Linked DNA regions of Homo sapiens: region 1 is linked to region 2. The links are contacts of gene promoters, found by promoter capture Hi-C in human tissues and cell types (Jung and others, 2019). All regions are on one chromosome and are shown on one strand. The core of a region is centred on a gene start or on the middle of the fragment in contact, and the rest is flanking DNA. Distances in the headings are between cores, read along the strand shown. Region 1 has its middle 8.6 kb from the start of SPNS3. Region 2 holds the start of SMTNL2 (smoothelin like 2).

Region 1 (3,697 bases), core at 516-3,015, 160 kb before region 2:
TCCTGTGACCTTCTTTTTTTTTTTTTTTTTGATTAAGGGTCTTGCTCTGTCACTGAGGCTGGAGTACAGTGATGCAATCACAGCTCGCTACAGCCTCAACCTCCTTGGCTCAAGCAATCCTGCAATCCTCCTGCCTCAACCTCCTGAGTAGCTGGGACTACAGGCACACCACCACCATGCCTGTCTAATTTTTTTTTTTTTTTTTGCAGCGATGGGGGCCTGTTGCCCAGGCTGGTCTCAAACTCCTGGGTTCAAACAATCCTCTCACCTTGGCCTCCCAAACTGTTGGAATTACAGGTGTGAACCACTGTGCCCAGCCTGTCACCTCCTATTCTGTGAGGCTGGACATTTCTTTTGTTAAAAAAAGGACATAAATTTAAACTCTGATGGGAGCCACTCTGGAAGGGTCTCCACTAAAAATCATCTCAAATGAGCTTTTTTTTTTTTTTTTTGAGATGGAGTTTTGCTCTTGTTGCCCAGGCTGGAGTGCAGTGGTGCGATCTTGGCTCACTGCAACCTCTGCCTACTGGGTTCAAGGGATTCTCCTGCCTCAGTCACCCAAGTAGCTGGGATTACAGGCACCACCACCATGCCCGGCTAATTTTTTTGTATTTTTAGTAGAGACGGGGTTTCACCATGTTGGCCAGGCTGGTCTCTATCTCCTGACCTCAGGTGATCTGCCCGCCCTGGCCTCCCAAAGTGCTGGGATTACAGGTGTGAGCCACCACGCCTGGCCCCCAATAAGCTTCTGTATCAGAATTCACGAGAAAAAGCAGCCAAATAAGCTATGACTGGCCAGTTCACAAGTTTGTCTTTGATGTGTTTTATTATTTTTATCTGAATGGAATTATCCTGGACATGGATTTTGTAGGCTCTTGTTTATTTTTCACCATCAAATTCTGAACGTCTTTCAGATCAACATAGACTAACATCATGTACAGGGCTGTCTGGTGCCCCATTGTAGGGAGGTACCATGATTTATTTATTAATTTAATTTTTTTTTTTTTGAGATGGAGTTTCGCTCTTGTTGCCCAGGCTGGAGTGCAATGGCAGGATCTCAGCTCACTGCAACCTCCGCCTCCAGGGTTCAAGCGATTCTCCTGCCTCAACCTCCCAAATAACTGGGATTACAGGCATGTGCCACCACGCCCGGCTAATTTTGTATTTTTAGTAGAGACGGGGTTTCTCTATGTTGGCCAGGATGGTCTCGAACTCCTGACTTCAGGTGATCCGCTTGCTTCGGCCTCCCAAGGTGCTGGGATTACAGGCATGAGCCACGGCGCCTGGCCTGGAGGTACCATAATTTATTTAACCAGCCTCTGAAGCTGGGAATCTAGAATGTTGTCACTGTTCTGATATTACAATAACCCCATTTACTTTTTTTTTAATTGTGGTAAAATAATATAGAATTTACAATTTAGCCTTTTTTTTTTTTTTGAAACAGAGTCTTGCTCTGTCGCCCTGACTGGGGTGCAGTGACGCGATCTCGGCTCACTGCAATCTCTGCCTGCCGAGTTCAAGCGATTCTCCTGCCTCAGCTTCCCAAGTAGCTGGGACTACAGGCATGTGCCACCACGCCCAACTAATTTTTGTATTTTGTATTTTTTTTGACAGAGTCTTGCTCTGTCACCCAGGCTGGAGTGCAGTGACATAATCTCAGCTTACTGCAAGCTGTGCCTCCCGGGTTCACGCCATTCTCCTGCCTCAGCCTCCCGAGTGGCTGGGACTACAGGCGCCTGCCACCATGCCTGGCTAATTTTGTTTTTGTATTTTTAGTAGAGACGGGGTTTCACCATGTCAGCCAGGATGGTCTCGATCTCCTGACCTCGTAATCCGCCCACCTCAGCCTCCCAAAGTGCTGGGATTACAGGCGTGAGCCACCGCGCCCGGCTAATTTTTGTATTTTTAGTAGACACGGGGCTTCACCATTTTGGTCAGGCCAGTCTTGAACTCCTGACCTCGGGTGATCCGCCTGCCTCAGCCTCCCAAAGTGCTGGGATTACAGGTGCGAGCCCCTGCGCCTGGCCTCAATTTAACCATTTTTAAGTGTAAAGCTCAGAGGTACTAAATGCACTCACGTTGTGCAACCATTACCACCCTCCATCTGTGAAACTTTTTCATCATCCCCAACTGAAACTCTGTGCCCATTAAGCAATGACCCCATTTCTCACTCGCCCCCATTCAGTCCCTCCTAACCTCTATTCTACTTTTGGTCTCTGTAAATTCACATATTCTAGTCCAGGCGCCGTGGCTCTCATCTGTAATCCCAGTACCTTGAAAGGCCTGAGGTGGGCAGATTGCTTGAGCTCACGAGTTTGAGACCAGCCTTGGCAACGTGGCAAAACCCTGTCTCTACAAAAAATGCAAAAAATTAGCCAGCATGGTGGCGTGTGCCTGTAGTCCCAGCTACTCGGGAGGCAGAGGTGGGAGGATGGATTGAACCTGGGAGAAGGAAATTGCAATGAGCTGAGATTGTGCCACTGTACTCCAGCCTGGGTGACAGAGCCAGACCTTGTCATTCATAAATAAATAAATAAATGAATGAATAAAATAAATAAATGGCCGGGCGCGGTGGCTCAGGCTTGTAATCCCAGCACTTTGGGAGGCCAAGGCAGGAAGATCACCTGAGGTCAGAAGTTCGAGACCAGCCTGGCCAACATGGCAAAATCCCATCTCTACTAAAAATGCAAAAATTAGCTGGGCGTGGGGGGCACGTGCCTGTAATCCCAGCTACTCGGGAGGCTGAGGCAGGAGAATCGCTTGAACCCAGGAGGTGGAGGTTGCAGTGAGCTGAGATCGTTCCACTACACTCCAGCCTGGGTGACAGAGTGAGACTCCGTCTCAAAAAGAAACAAATAAATAAAATAAAATTAAAATTAATAATTAATTAAAAAATTCACTTATTCTATAAATCTCATATAAGTAGAATCATACAATCAATATTTATCTTTTGCATCTGGGTAATTTCACTCAGCATGATGTCTTCTTTTTTTTTTTTTTTTTTTGGAGACAGGGTTTTGCTCTGTCGCCCGGTCTGGAGTGCAATGGCACGATCGTAGCTCACTGCAGCGTCGAACTCCTGGCCTCAAGCCATCCTCCCACCTCAGCCTCCCCAGTAGCTGGTTTTAGAGGTGTGAGCCACCGCACCTGGCCAGTTGGATATATTCTAATGCTGCTCTCCTGGCTAACACCTAGCCTCCCTGACTTGCCCAACTCCTGGGAGTTCTGGCCTCAAGAACCCCTCCCTAGTCCCTGACTGGCTCTGAAAACCACCACAGCGTCTCTTTCTTGTTGGGTAAAGGTGAGGGCTGGACCCTGGAAAGGTCCTGTTTGGGGCAGCAGCTGCTAGGTGGGGGCTGCCAAGGTCCCCACTGCTGTGTGGTTTGCATGAGTGTGTGTGAGTGGGGGTGTGGGTGCTCGTGTGCCCACCTTCTCCTCATGCACTCACACTTGTGGATGTAGCTCTGCCCACTACTCTTTGGCTCTGAGGGCAGGGGCTGAGAACAAAGTTTCATCTACATGTGCTGGGGAAAACCCCATTATATTTAACACTCACAATACTTCCTCCATACCAAGCATAGTTCTAGGCACTTTTCAAACATCATCGTATTCAAGCCACAACAGTCCCATGAGGTGTGTACTATTTTTATCCCCATTTTATTTGTTTTATATTTATTTATTTTCAAGACAAGAGTCT
Region 2 (3,839 bases), core at 478-2,977:
TGGAGAGTGTGGATGGATCCCAGGCAGCCACAGGCTCTACGATCTGTCACCTCCTCCTCCCTGCCAGGCTTCCCACCAATGGCCCAGCCAGCCTGCCTTCTCCCGGAGGATGGAGAGAAGCCTAGAGACCAGCCTGTCCAGTCCCTCTCAAGGCTTCTCCACACGGTCCTTCCTTGGATCTTAGAAGGGAAGGGACTGGGCTTCTGTGGCTGAGACCAGGGTTTTTGAACTCCAGGTTCTTGTGCTGAGACCTGGAGGGGCTTTGAGTGCTGTCTGCGGCAAGAGCAGCAGCAGCGTCTCTGGAGGCTGCTACTAAAGATTCCACCTGGAGAAAGCATTCAGGGAGCAGTTTGGCTCACCCTGTCCAGATGGCTACCTGGAATGCACACACATGCTCACACATATATGCAGCATGCACACCTTTTGGCATTTGCCTTTTTCATGAAATAATTGCTGGAAGGCTCCTTGGATTAGGTAACCCAGCGTTCCTTCCTGTCCCCTTGGGGCTGGGGGCGGGGGAGAGAACCAGCATTTAGCATCTGTCAGGCTGCTCCAGTTCCTTTGGGGCAATGATGGCCAGTCCAGGAGGGTTTGTGGGCTCCAAACAACCTTGGGAGCAGAACATGATATGAACAAGCCTTTCAGACTTCTCCTTCCTGCAGGTCAGCTGGCTATGCATGCCCAGCCTCTGGGCCTCTTTCAGGCAGGCCAGGCTTGGGAAAAAGAAGGCCAATTAGGAAAGGTTTTTTGCACAAAGGAGGATATGTTCTCATTTTTATTTTAAATCAGCTTTATGATATAGCGAAAACTTAGAGTTAGCTTTGCCCATCATCCCATCGTCCTAAAGCAACACCTGTTTCCCTTCTTCCCTTTTCTGGTGATGGTTTGGGGTGTGCATTTGGAAGGGGGAACTATCTGGGTTCAGCCATAAAGAGCATTGAGAAGGAATAGGGGTAAGACCCCTGGCCTACGGGTAGAGGCCAGTGACTGAGACTCTCATTGCGGGAGGGGGCGATTAGTCGCAAAGCCGCCCATTCCAGGATTTGGAGATGCAGCTCCAGCACACCCTTCTTTCTCTGTCTGCCCTTAGCCTCTCCAGGATCTCCTAACGGAGGCCCCTTGGTGGGTCGGGAGCCTCTACCGACCACTAGTGGGAAGGGCACGAAGATCTTGCTATACAGAGTAGGACTGGGAGGGGACAGCGCGTAGTCGCAGAGTCAGGGAGGGGACCTCACCACCTGTCTCCTCCCTGAGGTCTTAGAACAGATACAAGAAATTCCAGGCGAAGGTCCCACAGGTGAGCGTGTGCCTGCGAGAGCCGTGGCCGCTGCATAGGGAGGGCCCCGCGGAGTGGGGCGGCAGCTGTGGGAGCTGTAGGTGTCCCCATTAGCCCGGGAGTCTCCGCCCCCGGAGGAACCTGGGCCTTGCGGGTGAGAGTCCCGAGCGAACGCGTCAGCCCGGGTGTGCTCTCTACGGTCCAGGGGGGCCAGGGCCTTCTTCGGGTGGGCCCGCCGCCCCTCCCGCAGGCCGCACGCCGCTCCTCCGGGGTCGCAGGGCTCAGTTAAGAGCCGGGGAGGGGAGAGGCTGGGCGAGCTCTCCCTCCGCACCGTCCCGCTGGGCTCCAGGGCAGGGGGGTGTCCCGGAGTCGTCCCCGGCTCCGCCCCCGAGGCCCCGCCCCGCGCCCGCCTCCCCGGCAGCCCCTCGAGCGAAGCCAGCCACGGACGGCCAGTCGCGGCCCGGAGCTGCGGAGCTCGGATCTTCTCCCCCGTCTGGCCCGCTCTCGACCCGCGCGCTCTGCTGGGCCATGGAGCCGGCCCCCGACGCCCAGGAGGCGCGCACTGTGCGCGAGGCGCTGGGCCGCTACGAGGCGGCGCTGGAGGGTGCGGTGCGCGCGCTGCACGAGGACATGCGGGGGCTGCAGCGCGGCGTGGAGCGGCGAGTGGCAGAGGCGATGCGCCTGGCCGGCCCCCTGGCGCGCACGGTGGCCGACCTGCAGCGGGACAACCAGCGGCTGCAGGCGCAGCTCGAGCGCCTGACGCGCCAGGTGGAGGCGCTGGGCTTGGCCAGCGGGATGTCCCCGGTGCCCGGCACTCCCGGCACGCCCAGCCCCCCGCCCGCGCCCGGGGTTCCCGACCGCGCGCCCCGCCTGGGCAGCGCACGCTTCGCCAGCCACGCCACCTTCTCGCTGTCCGGCCGCGGCCAGGTGAGCCCGGGGGAGCGCGTGCGCTGGCGCCAGGGAGTGGGGCTCCGAACCGGGTGCCGCCCCTTCGCCCCGACTGCCTGCCTCTGCTCGCGTCTGCGGGGTTGGGGCCTTCACCGGCCGCTCGGACTAGGTGATGGGGGTCCTGCCGCCCCTCCGGAGTTGGAGAGGGCGGGGGGAGGACCGCTGAGCCTGCCAGCTGCACCTGTCTTGGTCCTCCGCCCTGTTTTAGAGCCAGGCTCTGTTTGCTCAGAGTCCTGTCTCCCTCTCTCCTCTGTCCCATGACATCAACGGCTTGGGCGCCGAAGTCCGGCCCCTGACTGTTCAGCACTGCCTGGAGCCACGCGGGGCATGTTGGAATGGTCGACACCCCTGCCTGACCCCCACCCTCCATTCACGCTCCCCTGCGTTGCCGCTTCACTGAGGCCTGACGGCTCTGGTTATTGATTAACTCAGATTGAGAACTCAGGCCCCTGGATGGGTGGGGAGGGGGGTCGAGGGGGACGCGATCAGCAGCGGCTTTTGGGAACTCTCCATCGCAGGGGGTAAATCCCTTACCGTGAAGGGAGAGAGGTGGAAACCCGCCTTGAGCCGTGTCTAGATTCCTCGGGTCAGTGACTAGCCAGAGGCCCACACCACGTGGGGATAGGGCGGAGGCCGACGTGGACCAGTCACTACCTTGCGCATGGGCCACCCAGAGCAGTTAGAATGTGTCCATGGTGTGTGCAGTGGCCCTTGGGTGGGATTTTCCATCCTGATCAGGCATGTGCTCTCGGGTTGGGTTCCCAGGATCTGGGGCTGTGTAGCCTGCACCTGCTCCCTCCTTGGTGCAATCCCTGGGGCTCTCAGATTTCCCGCTGTGGGCTGGGCTGGACCCTAGGGGGCCTGGAGGAGGGTATCAGATTGGGCCTTCCCCCTGGAGGTCCCATCCAGGGTGGGAGATGGCCCCAGACCAAGTTTGGGCAGCCAGAGATGTTTTGCTCCAAACACAGTAGTTAGCCCCTTCTCAGTGGGTATCTCAGCAAGGCTTTGTGCTGGGGGCCTGGGGCTTGCTGCTACTGGTGCAGATGAGGGTGGGGTGGGGGCTGTGCAGGAAGCCTCAGAAAGGCTGAAAGTACTCACTGGTGAGTGCAGCCTCGAGGTATGCGAGTGGAGTGGGCAGTGGCGAATGCCCCTAGTGTGCTGGGCAGAGGAGTTGGGCTTTGCCCGGCCTGTAAGAAGTTCTTAAACATGTCATGGTAGCAGAACCCGGGAGTGTCCCAGTGCTCCGTGTGAAATGTCTGGAAATGTGGATACACTTAAGTCTGTCTTATGAACATGACACTCTACGTGACCATGGTCTAAAATCACCACTGTGAGCTCACACGTGCCTCATCAACTGTGTCATCGGTTGTTTCTGAGGTTTTATTTGAACATGCATTTGCTATTTGTCTGCTCATAGCAGCAGCTGTCCAAATTAAAAAAAAAAATGTCAGGTTCACATATACATGTAGATGTGTGTGTACACACAAAGAGAGAGAGAGAGAGAGAGAGAGAGAGGGAATTCTCTCCAGTCGTGATTTTTGTCAATGGAGATTAGCCATTGTTCACTGGCACCAAGCTAGTCCACTAGGTTAGGAGTTGGTGGATGAAGCTCAGG

The links. Contacts are between HindIII fragments. The study calls those that stand out against the background at their distance.
Region 1: a contact is called between a fragment that was not itself captured here and the fragment with the promoter of SMTNL2 in region 2, in 2 of the 25 tissues and cell types used here (dorsolateral prefrontal cortex and lymphoblastoid cells).

Annotation. Positions count from the first base shown.
Region 1 is chr17:4,423,447-4,427,143 of GRCh38, forward strand. No RefSeq gene overlaps it. Among named protein-coding and RNA genes, the nearest start is that of SPNS3, 8.6 kb to the right of the region's middle. The HindIII fragment of the contact is 7,432 bases long and covers 1-3,697 here.
Region 2 is chr17:4,582,802-4,586,640 of GRCh38, forward strand. It overlaps SMTNL2 (smoothelin like 2), which reads left to right and starts at 1,728. Exons shown (of 8, transcript NM_001114974.2): 1 at 1,728-2,203. The coding sequence starts at 1,805. RefSeq lists enhancers at 1-54, 847-1,466, 1,467-2,086, 2,707-3,324. The HindIII fragment of the contact is 15,336 bases long and covers 1-3,839 here.